3 separate regions of the Homo sapiens genome follow, and all the other regions are linked to region 3. Evidence: promoter capture Hi-C in 16 types of primary human blood cells and fetal thymus (Javierre and others, 2016). All regions are on one chromosome and are shown on one strand. Each heading gives the region's core, a stretch centred on a gene start or on the middle of the fragment in contact. The rest is flanking DNA. Distances are from core to core; before and after follow the strand shown.

The links. The method cuts DNA at HindIII sites, captures the fragments that hold promoters and counts their contacts. A CHiCAGO score of 5 or more calls a contact.
Region 1: a contact is called between a fragment that was not itself captured here and the fragment with the promoter of BORCS6 in region 3, in 1 of 17 cell types (erythroblasts). The highest score is 6.3, in erythroblasts.
Region 2: a contact is called between a fragment that was not itself captured here and the fragment with the promoter of BORCS6 in region 3, in 11 of 17 cell types (non-activated CD4 T cells, naive B cells, naive CD4 T cells and 8 more). The highest score is 11.6, in non-activated CD4 T cells.

What each region holds. Positions count from the first base shown.
Region 1 is chr17:8,060,219-8,064,677 of GRCh38, forward strand. No RefSeq gene overlaps it. Among named protein-coding and RNA genes, the nearest start is that of ALOX15B, 23 kb to the left of the region's middle. RefSeq lists an enhancer at 4,129-4,459. The HindIII fragment of the contact is 6,181 bases long and covers 1-4,459 here.
Region 2 is chr17:8,299,039-8,303,731 of GRCh38, forward strand. LOC124903915 (a long non-coding RNA gene) reads right to left here. Exons shown (of 2, transcript XR_007065606.1): 2 at 2,350-2,634. Among named protein-coding and RNA genes, the nearest start is that of SLC25A35, 6.0 kb to the left of the region's middle. The HindIII fragment of the contact is 3,846 bases long and covers 1,216-4,693 here.
Region 3 is chr17:8,187,633-8,191,827 of GRCh38, forward strand. BORCS6 (BLOC-1 related complex subunit 6) reads right to left here and starts at 2,548. Exons shown (of 1, transcript NM_017622.3): 1 at 713-2,548. The coding sequence starts at 2,508. The coding sequence ends at 1,435. It overlaps LOC124903913 (a long non-coding RNA gene), which reads right to left. Exons shown (of 2, transcript XR_007065604.1): 2 at 3,643-4,195. It overlaps TRI-AAT5-5 (tRNA-Ile (anticodon AAT) 5-5), which reads left to right; the gene lies at 1-34. RefSeq lists enhancers at 527-576, 1,715-2,361, 2,340-2,619, 2,362-3,007 and silencers at 1,800-1,849, 1,920-1,979, 2,180-2,229. The HindIII fragment of the contact is 3,696 bases long and covers 1-3,639 here.

The sequences.
Region 1 (4,459 bases), core at 1,353-3,852, 130 kb before region 3:
TTGCATTAAAACGGAAAACTCCAAAACCTGTTTGGGTTGATCAGTGGCCGCTTCCTCAACAAAAACTGGAGGCATTACATTCATTGGCAAAAGAACAATTAGACAAAGGACATATTGAACCATCTTTTTCACCATGGAACGCCCCAGTTTTTGTAATTCAGAAAAAATTCGCTAGATGGCGCATATTGACCGACTTATGAGCGGTTAACGCAGCCATTCAACCGATGGGAGCTCTCCAACCAGGGTTGCCATCTCCGGCCATGATCCCAAAAGAATGGCCGATGGTAATAATTGATCTAAAAGATTGTGTTTTTTACTATTCCTTTGGCTCCTCAGGATTTTGAGAAATTTGCATTTACAATACCTGCCATGAATAACAAGGAACCAGCTACTATATATCGATGGAAAGTTGTACCCCAAGGAATGTTAAATAGTCAAACTTTTGTTGGAAAGGTTATTCAGCTTGTCAGGGATCAGTTTCCTGATTGCTATATTATTCATTATGTTGATGACATTTTATGTGCTGCTGCAAGCAGGGACAGACGGATTGAGTGTTTTGCTAGGCTACAAGAAGTGGTGGGACTTACAGGTCTCGCTATAGCACCAGATAAAATCCATACTACACCCTATCATTACCTGGGAATGAGGGTACAGGAGAAAACAGTAAAGCCTCAAAAGGAGGAAATTCGTAAAGAGTCCTTAAAAACCTTAAATGATTTCCAAAAATTATTAGGGGACGTTAATTGGATAAGACCTACTTTAGGAATTCCCACCTAAGCAATGTCTAAACTGTTTGCTTTGCTGAGATGGGATCCAAATTCATGTAGCAAAAGAACTCTGATGCCTGCTGCAGCTGAAGAGTTACAAATGATTGAGGAAAAAATTCAAAGTGCTCAAGTCCGTAGAAGAGATCCTAGTGTTCCATTACAGCTCTTAGTGTTCCCTACTCTCCATTCTCCTATAGGAGTGATTGTTCAAAATGTTGACTTAGTTAAATTGTCCTTTTTAACGCACAGTACGACTAGAACTTTCTCAATTTATTTAGATCAAATAGCTATTCTTATAGGCCAAATACAACTGAGAATAGTCAGACTCATTGGCACCGATCGAGATAAAAATGTAGTTCCTTTAAACAAAGCACAGGTTCGACAAGCCTTTATTAATTCGTCAGAATGGCAGTCAAATCTGGCTGATTTTGTTGGCAGTATAGATATTCATTACCCTAAAACTAAAATGTTTCAGTTCCTAAAAATTGACTACCTAAATTTTACCCAAAATAACTAGTTCCATTCCTTTGGAGGGAGCCGTAACTATCTTTACTGATGGCTCTCAGAATGGAAAAGCAGCTTATACAGGACCGGAAGAAAAGATTATTCAAACTCAGTTTCATTCTGCACAAAGAGCTGAGCTACAAGCAGTTATATCTGTATTGGAAGATTGTAATCAACCTGTTAATATAATCTCTGACTCTGCTTACGTATTCCAAGCTGCCAAAATGGTAAAAACAGCTTTAGTAAAACATATTTCTGATGATCAGTTAAATTTCTTGTTTAGTTCACTTCAACAAGCAGTTAGGACTCAAAATTTTCCCTTTTATATTACACATATTTAGGCTCACACAAACTTACCAGGACCTTTAACCCTATTAAATAATCAAGCAAATTTATTAGTGACGCCTGTTCTAACAGTGTCCGGCCTCTGAGCCCAAGCTAAGCCATCATATCCCCTATGACCTGCACGTATACATCCAGATGCCCTGAAGCAACTGAAGAATCACAAAAGACGTGAAAATGGCTGGTTTCTGCCTTAACTGATGACATTACCTTGTGAAATTCCTTCTCCTGGCTCAGAAGCTCCCCTACTGAGCACCTTGCAACCCCCGCCCCTGCCCGCCAGAGAACAACCCCCTTTGACTGTAATTTTCCACTACCTACCCAAATCCTATAAAAGGGCCCCACCCCTATCTCCCTTCGCTGACTCTCTTTTCGGACTCAGCCCACCTGCACCCAGGTGAAATAAACAGCCTTGTTGCTCACACAAAGCCTGTTTGGTGGTCTCTTCACACAGACGCGAACAAAAGCTCAAAACTTCCATTCCCTAATTCATGTAAATGCTGCTGGATTAAAAAATAAATATTCATTTACCTGGAAACAAGCTAAAAATATAGTACAACATCCTCAGTGCCAAGTGCTACAGCTACCCACCCAAAAACCTGAAGGTAACCCTAGGGGGCTTCAACCAAATGCAGTGTGGCAAATGGACATGACTCATGTCCCATCATTCGGAAAACTTTCTTTCGTACATGTTACTGTTAATACTTTTTCTCGGTTTATCTGGGCTACACGCCAAACTGGAGAAAGCACAGCTCACGTAAAACGACATTTATTATCTTGTTTTGCAGTCATGGGTGTGCCACAGAAAGGAAAAATGGTCTGGTGGAAGGATACCAGAACCAAAACTTGGAAATTAAGAAAAAGTATTACTTGGGGGAGGGGTTTTCCTTGTGTTTCACCAAGAGACAATCAAACACTCATTTGGATACCCAATAGACATTTAAAATTCTACAATGAACCCTACACCGACCGGTCAGAAAAAAGGAAAGAATCAAAAGAGAAAGAAGACCGGTCCCTTCGACCTGTCTTTTCGGGAGCTGAGGAAAATGGTGAAGCTGAGCGTCTCGGAGAAAAAACAGAAGACGGAGAAGACTCGCTAGGCTACACCACTGACATGGGGACAGATAAAGAAGCTGACTCAATTGGCAGAGGACACCCTAAAGGAGAAACAACTAGCGATTACACCGGGTAATATGATCTTGGCTGCCTTGATGGTAATCACCACGGCGGTAAGTCTCTCTGCTGTTTCAGCTAAGCAAAATTTTACTACTGGGCTTATGTTCCATTTCCTCCTTTGATTAGACCTGTCACTTGGATGGACTCCCCTACTGAAGTTTATACAAATGGTAGTATCTGGATGCCTGGGCCGACTTATGATAGCTGTCCTGCATAGCCTGAGGAGGAGGGCATGTTAATGAATGGGATAATTGGGTATAAATACCCTCCAGTTTGTTTAGGAATTGCTCCTGGATGTTTGCCATTACAAATACAAAGTTGGATGGTCTACGTACCTCCTCATAATCGTTCTCAACCTAGTTATCACGTAGTGAGTGGAATGTCTTTTCAACCCATCAGGACTGTAAAAACTTAAGGGGATAGTTATTATCAGTCAAATATAAAAGTCCAAAATTGCAAGCCTAAGGGATTGGCTTGCCCTAAAAGGAATCCAGAATGGTCAGAAAAATGAGAAATTCTTACTTGGGAGGTTTGTGTGGCAGATAATGCGGTAGTTTTGCGAAATGGTTCTCATGGGGTCATTATAGACTGGGCTCCTAAGGAATCTTTTGCTAGAAATTGCACCGGACAAAACGCTGGGTGCGCTGGGGACTCCTTTATGATCGAATATAGAAATGATCCATATAATCCCCCCACTTTAGTTAGAAGATTTGAATCAACATACCCATTAAAGTGGGAAGATAAAGATACTGCTCCCCCTCCACCAAAAATTAGTCCGGTCGTGGGTCTGGAACATCCAGAATTGTGGAAGTTGCTTATGGCGACCTCCGGAATGAGAGTGTGGAAAGGGGAAGCGTCCTGGGGAACAAAAGGTAATAAGCCACTCTTTACTATGCCTTCTCCCTCTGCCCACTCCCCCGCCCCCCGAAAGGAAGACCTCCAGGTGACGCTCCCTGAGGACTCGGGCCAGGTGCTGCTGCTGCGTTTGCACAAGGCGTCCCCCGCCTCCCCTCCCCTCTGCCACCCCTCCCCCCGCCGGCCTCCCCGCCTCCCCCACCTCACCCCTACCCCCTCCGCCCCCCGCCCCCCGCCACGCTGCCTCGCCCCCTCTAGGTCCGGCCCAGACTCCGGGGTCTGCCGCTGGGTCCAGCTGAGGCTGCTGGGGACCCCCTCCGCTCCCCCTTACCAGTGGCTGGAGGGGGCAGGCAAAGGGCAGGGCCGGGGCTGCAGGAGGGGCATGGAGGGAGCGAGGGGGACCAGGGTGGTCATGGGTCAGGGGAGGGGGGCTGGTGTGGACACAGTGGGGAGGGGGGAGGCAGAAAGGTGACATGAGGGGCACGGGAAGGAGGAGGTGGGATGGTTGGGAGGAACCATACTCAGGGAGGGGAGGATGGAAGATAAGTGGGGGAGGGGAGCACCGGCTCTGACAAGAGGATTAGGTGGGGAAGTTGAGTGGTGGATCAGTGAGTGGAAGAGGGAGAAGCTGGTGGAAAGAGAACAGGCCTGTGAAGCAGAGGGGTTGGGGGCAGAACATCGTGGCCCAGTATTGGGGGTGGTGGGTGTAGCTATGTCTTCTCTTTCCTCTTCCCACCGACTTTACTCTTTGGTCCCCTCTGGCCTGGGCTGTTGAGTTGGGGCTCAGTGAACGGATGGGGACGACCTCAGGTGCT
Region 2 (4,693 bases), core at 1,889-4,388, 110 kb after region 3:
AAAAATAAAATAAAAAAAATATCAGGAGTCTGGGCGTGGTGGCTCACACCTGTAATCCCAGCACTTTGGGAGGCCAAGGCAGGCAGATCACCTGAGGTTGGGGGTGTGAAACCAGCCTGACCAACATGGGGAAACTTCTTCTCTACTAAAAAAAATACAAAATTAGCTGGGGGTGGTGGCGCATGCCTGTAATCCCAGCTACTCGGGAGGCTGAGGCAGGAGAATCACTTGAACCCCGGAAGTGGAGGTTGCAGTGAGCAGGAGATTGCGCCATTGCACTCCAGCCTGGGCAACAAGAGTTAAACTCTGTCTCAAAATTACATCTATCTATCTATCTATCTATCTATCTATCTATCTATCTATCTATCTATATATATATATATCAGGGCTGGGCATGGTGGCTCAGGCCTGTAATCCCAGCACTTTGGGAGGCTGAGGTCAGCGGATCATGAGGTCGAGAGATCGAGACCATCCTGCCCAACATGGTGAACCCTCATCTCTACTAAAAAAAAAAAATACAAAAATTGGCCGGGTGTGGTGGCTCATGCCTGTAATCTCAGCACTTTGGGAGGCCGAGGAGGGCGGATCACCAGGTCATGAGGTCGAGACCATCCTGGCTAACACAATGAAACCCCATCTCTACTAAAAATACAAAAAATTAGCCAGGCGTGGTGGCAGGTGCCTGTAGTCCCAGCTACTAGGGAGGCTGAGGCAGGAAAATGGCATGAACCCAGGAGGCGGAGCTTGCAGTGAGCCGAGATCGCGTCACTGCACTCCAGCCTGGGCGACAGAGTGAGACTCTGTCTCAAAAAAAAAAAAAAAAATTGAGGCCGGATGCAGTGGCTCATGCTTGTAATCCCAGCACTTTGGGAGGCCGAGGTGGGTGGATCACCTAAGGCCAGGAGTTCGAGACCAGCCTGGTCAACCTGGTGAAACCCCATTTCTACTAAAAATACAAAAATTAGCTGGGTGTGGTGGCGGGCACCTGTAATCCCAGCTACTCGGGAGGCTGAAGCAGGAGAATCACTTCAACCCAGGAGGCGGAGTTTGCAGCGAGCCGAGATCGCACCACTGCACTCCAGCTGGGCAACAGAGCTAGACTCCGTCTCAAAAAACAACAACAACAACAACAACAAAACAAACAAACAAAAAAAACCCAAAAATGTATAATTAGGCCCAAGGTCACCTAGATTTTCTTTTATGTTTTCTTCTAGAAGCTTTATAGTTTTACTTTTTACATTTAGGTCTATGATCCATTTTGAGTTAATTTTTGTAAATTATGTGAGGTCTGGGTTTGGTTTCTTCTCATCCTCCTCTCTCTTTTCTTCTTTCTTCTTTCCTCCTCCTCCTCCTTCGTCGTCTTCTTCCTCTTCCTCCTCTTCTTCTCCTTCTTCTTCTTTTTCTCCTTCTTCTTTCTTCTTCTTCCTTTGGTCCTTTGTAAAAAATCTGTTTTCTATATTTGTGTGGCTCGATTTCTGTGCCCTCACTTCTGTTCCCTTGATCTGTGTGTCTAGCCTTTGACCAATATCATGCTGTCTTGATTTATTGTAGGCTGTTACCATTTTTTCCTGGATGTGAATGTCATGAATCAGATTTGAGAGGAGTTGCATAGGGAACGTAAAAGTCCCCAGGTGTCTGAAAGAAGGGGTGGTAACATAGAGAGGGAGCGAGAAAGACGGGGAGGCTTGGAGGGCAGGGGGCTGTGTCTTTCTTGCCTCTTCCTTGGTAGCCTAGACACTGATGGGTTCCTTTTGGCTGCTGAGCGCGCACCCGAAGTGCTCAAACTCCACCTAGTGGTGGTGAGGAAGGATCGTCTCTGTGTATCCTCACCTGGGCCAAAACCTGTATAAATTCCCAGAGCAGGCCAGCTTTTCCTTACTGCTTCTTCCTGATTTATCCCCCATCACAGGCAGGCTACCTACATTAACAGCTTTGCAGACAGAAATGAGGCCCAGGTGTTCTGTGCTCCATGAAAGAGTCTACTGGACTTCCAAGTCCTGGCCCTACCGGAGGGAGCTGGACTCAACACTTCTTTTATTAGAAGCTCCCTTTATAAGGGATTGTTTTGTTGTAAGTGACAGAAATCCAACTCAAACTAGCTTACAAAAAGGGAACTCATTGACTCACACAACTGAAAGCTCCAGACACACACATGACTTCAGGCCAGCAGAATCAGGCACTCAAATCTGTCTCTCTCCACCTCTGCCATGTATCGGTTTTATTCTCAGGCCACCTCACTGATGGCCACTAGCAGCTGCAGGCCCATATTCCACCAGCTTAGCATCCTCAGTGGAAATGTAACTGCCCAGTGGGCTCTTCCTGTCCTCTGCACAAATAAAGACCACGGCATTGCAGTAAAGAAAGAGTTTAATTGACACGAGGCCGGCCATGCCACATGCAAAATTGATTATTACTCAAGTCAATCTCCCTGAAAATTCAGAGATCAGGGTTTTTGATAATTTGGTGGGTAGGGGGTCAGAAAGTGGGGAGTGCTAATTGGTTAGGTGGGAGACGAAATCACAGGGAGTTGAAACTCTCCTCTTTCACTGGGTCGGTTCCTGGGTGGGGGCCACAAGAACAGATGAACCAGTTTATTGATCCGGGTGTTGCCAGATGATGCTTTGAGTGCAGGGTCTGCAAAATATCACAAGCACTCATCTTAGGTTTTACAAGAATGATGTTATCCCCAGGAGCAATTTGGGGAGGTTCAGAATCTTGCAGCCTCCAGCTGCATGACTCCTAAACCAAATCTTATTTATTTATTTTTTTTTTGAGACGGAGTATCGCTTTGTCACCCAGGCTGGAGTGTAATGGCATGGTCTCTGATCACTGCAACCTCTGTCTCCTGGGTTCAAGCGATTCTCCTGTCTCAGCCTCCCGAGTAGCTGGGACTACAGGCGTGCGCCACCACACCCGGCTAATATTTTGTATTTTTAGTAGAGACAGGGTTTCACCATGTTGGCCAGGCTGGCCTTGAACTCCTGACCTCGTGATCTGCCAACCTCGGCCTCCCAAAGTGCTGGGATTACAGGCATAAGCCACTGTGCCCAGCCGAAACGGGAGTTTTATTACATTATTACTCAAATCAGTCTCCCCAAGCAGAATCAGTTTTTTGTTTGTTTGTTTGTTTGTTTGTTTGTTTTTGAGACGGAGTCTCGCTCTGTCGCCCAGGCTGGAGTGCAATGGCGCCATCTTGGCTCACTGCAAGCTCCGCCTCCCGGGTTCACGCCATTCTCCTGCCTCAGCCTCCCCAGTAGCTGGGCCTACAGGCCCCCGCCACCACGCCCGGCTAATTTTTTGTACTTTTAGTAGAGACGGGGTTTCACCGTGTTAGCCAGGATGGTCTCGATCTCCTGACGTCGTGATCTGCCCGCCTCAGCCTCCCAAAGTGCTGGGATTAGAGGCTTGAGCCACCGCACCCGGCTACCAGAATCAGAGTTTTTAAAGATCATTTGGCGGGTAGGGACTTGGGAAGTGGGGAGTGCTGATTGGTCAGGTTGGAGATGGAATTGCAGGGGGTCGAAGTGAGGTTTTCTTGCTGTCTTCTGTTCCTGGGTGTGATGACAGAACAGGTGGTGCCAGATTAAGGTCTGGGTGGTATCAGCTGATTCATAGAGCCAGCGGCTGCATGACCCCCAAACTAATTTATAATCTTGTAGCTAATCTGTCAATTTGTTAGTCCTGCAAAGGCAGACTGGTCCCCAGGCAAGAAGGGGGTCTTTTCAGTTAAGGACTATTAACAATTTTGTTTCAGAGTCAAACCATGAACTGAATTCCTTCCCAAAGTTAGTTCAGCCTACGCTGAGGAATGAACAAGGACAGCTTAAAGATTAGAAGCAACATGGAACTGGTGAGGTCTGATTTCTTTCACTGTCATAATTTCCTCAGTTATAACTTTACAAAGGCGATTTTAAGACCCTGTCTCAAAAACAAACAAACAAACAAACAAAAACTATCGTGATCCACTCCCCCTACTCTGCTCTGAAACCTTCAGGGCCTGTCTGCCCGGTGTGATTGCTCACGATATGGCCTCCATGTGTCCCTCTTTTCATTTCAGATCAGTTTGTTTCCCTTTCACGGTTCTCCAGACGTGCCTACTTTCCTCTTCGCTGTGCCTGCGCTTCCCTGGATTCCCACAATGCTCCTTCATGCCCTGCCTCTTGGCTTGGCTAAACCCCTCTGCCTGATTTTAAATGAACAGTCAAAGTGCCTCTTCTCCCTGACACCCACTTTTTCCAACCAACAGGTCAATGACATGAGGAAGACCGAAGGAGGCTGCTGGGTGTGGACACAAAGAGATGGAGCAGACGCTTATGGGCTCCTTCATCCTTCCAGAACAGACTCTCCAAGCAAAGTCTAAACCAGTCACATTGAAGCTCCTAGGGTTACTTCATTAATAATATTTCAGGCCGGGCGTGGTGGCTCACGCCTGTAATCCCAGCACTTTGGGAGCCTGAGGCGGGAGGATCACAAGATTAGGAGTTCAAGACCAGCCTGGCCAATATGGTGAAATCCCGTCTCTACAAAAAGTTAGCCAGGCGTGGTGGCGGGCGCCTGTAGTCCCAGCTACTCGGGAGGCTGAGGCAGGAGAATGGCTTGAGCCCAGGAGGCGGAGGTTGCAGTGAGCCGAGATTGCACCACTACACTCCAGCCTGGGCAACAGAGCAAGACTCTGTCTCAAATAATAATAATA
Region 3 (4,195 bases), core at 1,298-3,797:
GCCAAGGTCGCGGGTTCGATCCCCGTACGGGCCAGGATTGAAACTTTTCGAAAGTACGATTACTGCACTCCGTTTTAGAGCCAAGTAACGTCTCTGGGGAAAAACAGCGCCACATTTCCAATCCCAGAACAGGGAGCGTATTGGAGCGCATTCTAAAGTGGGCGTGTCTTGAGAGGAAGGGATTGAGAGAAACCGGGGTTGTTTCGTGATCTTTGCTTCTACATCTTATGGCCACAATATATGGCTCCTGAACTTACTGTGTGAACTGTAAACAAAAGGCTTTGGGACAAATTTGTCTCAAACCACGTGGCACTGATCTGCAGAGTGTGGGAAATGGTCAGGAATAGAGCTGACAAGTGTTCCCAGTCTTCCCCCAGAGGTAAGATGTCCGTCCAATCCACCCAGCCCCTGCCTATTCATGAGGACCTGAGAAGACAATTTCTTCCCCTTCTCTTCTAGAGCATCTTTTTTACGTTTCTGTGGTTACCGGATCTCTGGGCCCCTGTGAGTGATTATCTGTGTCCTCACATTTCCCCTCAGACCAGATGCTTAAGAGCAAGAACCATATCTTTCCCCACGGAGCCTGAGACATCTCCACCCCCACCCCACTCCCAGCACCAGCCCCAAGGGAGCTGCGTGAACAACACCGACCCTCATTCCCATTCCTTTGGCTTATTAATCACTGCAACCCCACACAGACTCAGCCTCAGCCTTCGCAGCAGCAGCACTTTAATTCCACAAAAACTCAGAAAGCCAAAACTGATTAGAACACTCCACAACAGGTGAGCTTCAAAACCAGCAACATTCTACCTGAACCCTGAGAGCAGTGAGACGCCTCCCACCTCACCCCCTCCGCCGTGCAACCCATTCCTCCTAGCTGCACGCCGGTTCTGGCTGGGGAAGTGGTATGGTAGAGGGCCAGAGGGCAGAAGCAGAAGGCTCTCCATCAGCAGGGGTGCATCTTTGCCTGCGGGGTGTTTGGCCAAGGACGGCACAAGCTCCCACAGCCCCTGGCACCTGAGATGTGGCCACTGGAGTCAGGATAGCCACAGTGGGGGCTGGGGCTTCCTCTGTCCCTTTCTCCTGATTACATGTGGGAGTCACGTCCTCACCTTCAAGCAGACCTAAAGCCCCGTGTTCCCAGGGCTGGTGCTCTAGCTAGGGAGGAGAGTTGGGAAGAACAGGGTAGCTACAGATGGCCAACTGAATACAAGCAGAGCAACATCCCTTCCCACCAGGAGAGCCGTTAGAACTTCCCCACATACACCAGCCTAAGGCCCAGCGAGTGGGCACGGGCCAGCTGAACGCATCTGGAAGAGCCTCCAACACACAGGCCTCCCCTCAGTGGGCACTTCCCACCAGGACTCCCTGAAGAGTCCTTAGGGTCCTGCTGGGCCCTGCCCTGGCCAGGACCGGCCTCTCCTGTCCTCCTGGTCACTTGCACAGGGCCTCCAACACCTCCAGAGTACGTCGGATATCCCGGACTTGGCGCGCCAGCCCCTGAACCGGCTGCAGAGCCCGCTCCAGCTCCTCGCAGCGCGCCAGCAGGGTGTACATGCCCTTGATGCTCATGTCCACGGCTTCACCTAAGGAGTCCACAGCATCGCGGTAGGTCTGGATGCAACCCACGCTCAGCGCCGTCAGCTCCTGCACCGCGCCACCCAGACCGCGAAGCAGACGGTCCACCCGGCCTCCCAGCTCCCGACTCAACCGCTCCAGATCCCGCAGCACCTCGGGGTCGATTGGGGGAATGGCCGGTGTGGGTGTGGGTGCAGGCGCTGGGCAGGGCCGCGCAGGGGCAGAAGGCGGGGGTGGAGGCGCGCCGCTCAGACGGATCTTGAGTTGCAGGTTGTTGGCGACAAAGTGGGTAAGGTCGCCGTGGCGGCTCACTGTGCCTTCGAGCTCCAGGGGACTGGAGATGGTGGCGCGGCGTCCGCCGCCCGCGCCGGACTCGGCACTCCCTGAGGACCCGGCGCCACCGCACGCCTCGCTCAGCCCGTCCAGGCTGCGGCTGTCCTGAAGACGGCTGGAGAACGAGCGGCCGGCTCTGCTGCCCGCGGCCGCCTCCTCGTCGTTGTCTTCCTCCTCCTGCTGCTCAACATCCATCCCGCCGCCTGGTCCCCCTCGACGGCAGTCCCTCCCGGAGGAGGGCTTGCCCTCGGGCGGCGCCGGGTTCTTGTGCCGGGAGGACAGGGAAGGTTCGTGCTCTGCACCCGGCGCCCCCCTGCGGCTCCCGGCCCCAGACAGCGTCCCTTGAGGGCCGGGCTCGTTCTCCAGAGCCTCCCGTTCCGGCCGGTGGACGACGCCGCAGCTTGACGTCTTCGGGGACGTCCTGGGGTGGCGGTTCGCGCCCCCAACGTTCTCGGTCTCTTCCTCCCCGGACACCCGGAGGCCTGCGGGCGGCTCAGAGGACGTTCGGCCCGGCCCGCCGCCAAAGACTAGGGCCTGATGTTCCGCTACAGCCAGAAGGTCCGTCTCGGGCCCGGGCCGCCCCCGAGACGACTCCATACTGCAGGTGGGGGCCGCAACGGAGGAATTGGTTCGCCCCGGCTCCGGAGGCAGTGGCTGCGCCTTTAAGGGGCGTTGGTAGAGGCGAGCCGATTGGCAGCGGCTGACAATGGTAAGGACAGGAAAAGCATTTTGATTGGTCGCGGCGACCAGGAAGTCCCGGAAGAAGAGCTGTTACTGCACAGCGGAACACACGTGAACGCCGGCAGGGTGGAGAGAAGGAGGTGACAGCTGCTCCCGTCGCCCCGCCCTTTCTGAAAGCTGATGGGGCAGATCTTAAAGACCAAGGTCCTCAAATTCCTGAGTCCCGAGGGGTGGGGCTCAGATCCTTTCTGCCTGTAATTGTACCCCCCCCAACAGTGATTGCTTAGCAAAAATACCAAGTGGGGAGCCCACTTGGGGTTCCTAGAGAGGTTCTTAGGATGAAAATGGCATATCCTTCTTGGACCATCAGGGTTGAACCTAGTTGACTAAAAAGAAGGAAACCAGAAGTCCAGCATGAGCATGAATGGTTTGCTCTATCTTTCTTGGTTAAGAGACCTAACCACTGAACTGCTCAGAGCGACCCACTGTGGTCAAGGCAGCGGCCTCTGGGCTTTCCTATGCGTTTGTCACTCTTGTTCTGTGTCTCTTGCCCCTTTCACACTGAGGGGTCTCGCCCCTTGGAGGATGGCGTGTGATTTTGCCACGAGGTAAAATATTCAACAAATGAAATGATCACAAATTTTGATATGTGCTATACAGGAAATAAAGTGTTATGATTGAGAATATAACTGAGCAGGCACTAGTTTAGGTAAGGGGTCAGGAAAATACCTCTTTGGTGAGACTTTTAACTAAAAAGAACCAAAAAGACGCAGCCACCCCCCAGGCAGAGAGAAGAAAACTTGAGCTACCTCTCAGAGACAAAGAAGTCTTGACGTATTCAAGAAACTGAGGTGAGGGGGCAGGAGACATTGGGACTAAAACAAAATCAGCAAGATAAGGGGAAGGATTTCGAGCCAAGGAGCTGAACAGGCAGCAGGGGCCACGTCATGCAGGGGGCCTTGTAGTTCCTGTTAGGGAATGGAGATTTCCTCTAAATGCAATGGTGCAGCGACATTGGAAAGGTTGTACATTGCAACACATAGCCAAAGCTTGGAGACATCAGTATTTTTATTTATTTATTTATTTATTTATTTATTTATTTATTTATGTATTTAGAGACAGAGTCCCACTCCGTCACCCAGGCTGGAGTGCAGTGGCGCGATCTCGGCTCACTGCAACCTCCGCCTCCTGGGTTCACGCGATTCTCCTAACTCAGTCTCCCGGGTAGCTGGGATTACAAGCGCCCGCCACCACGCCCGGCTAATTTTGTATTTTTAGTAGAGATGGGGTTTCACCATGTTGGCCAGGCTGGTCTTGAACTACTGGCCTCAAGTGATCCACCCGCCTCGGCCTCCCAAAGTGCTAGCATGACAGGCGTGAGCCACCGTGCCCGGCCAGACATCAGTATTTAATAAAAACAGTTTGCTAACTCTCCTTAGCTGACAAAGGATGTGGTTGTTTTTTCCATTTGGATAGAGAGATGTCTTGAGGCAGTGTCATGCCAGCATTCAGAAGTGCAACTCCCCAGAACTTCCCAGCACTACTATCCCCAGGTGCCTGCCGGGGTCCTAGCCAGCCAACCCTAATGATAGTAGCTCAATCT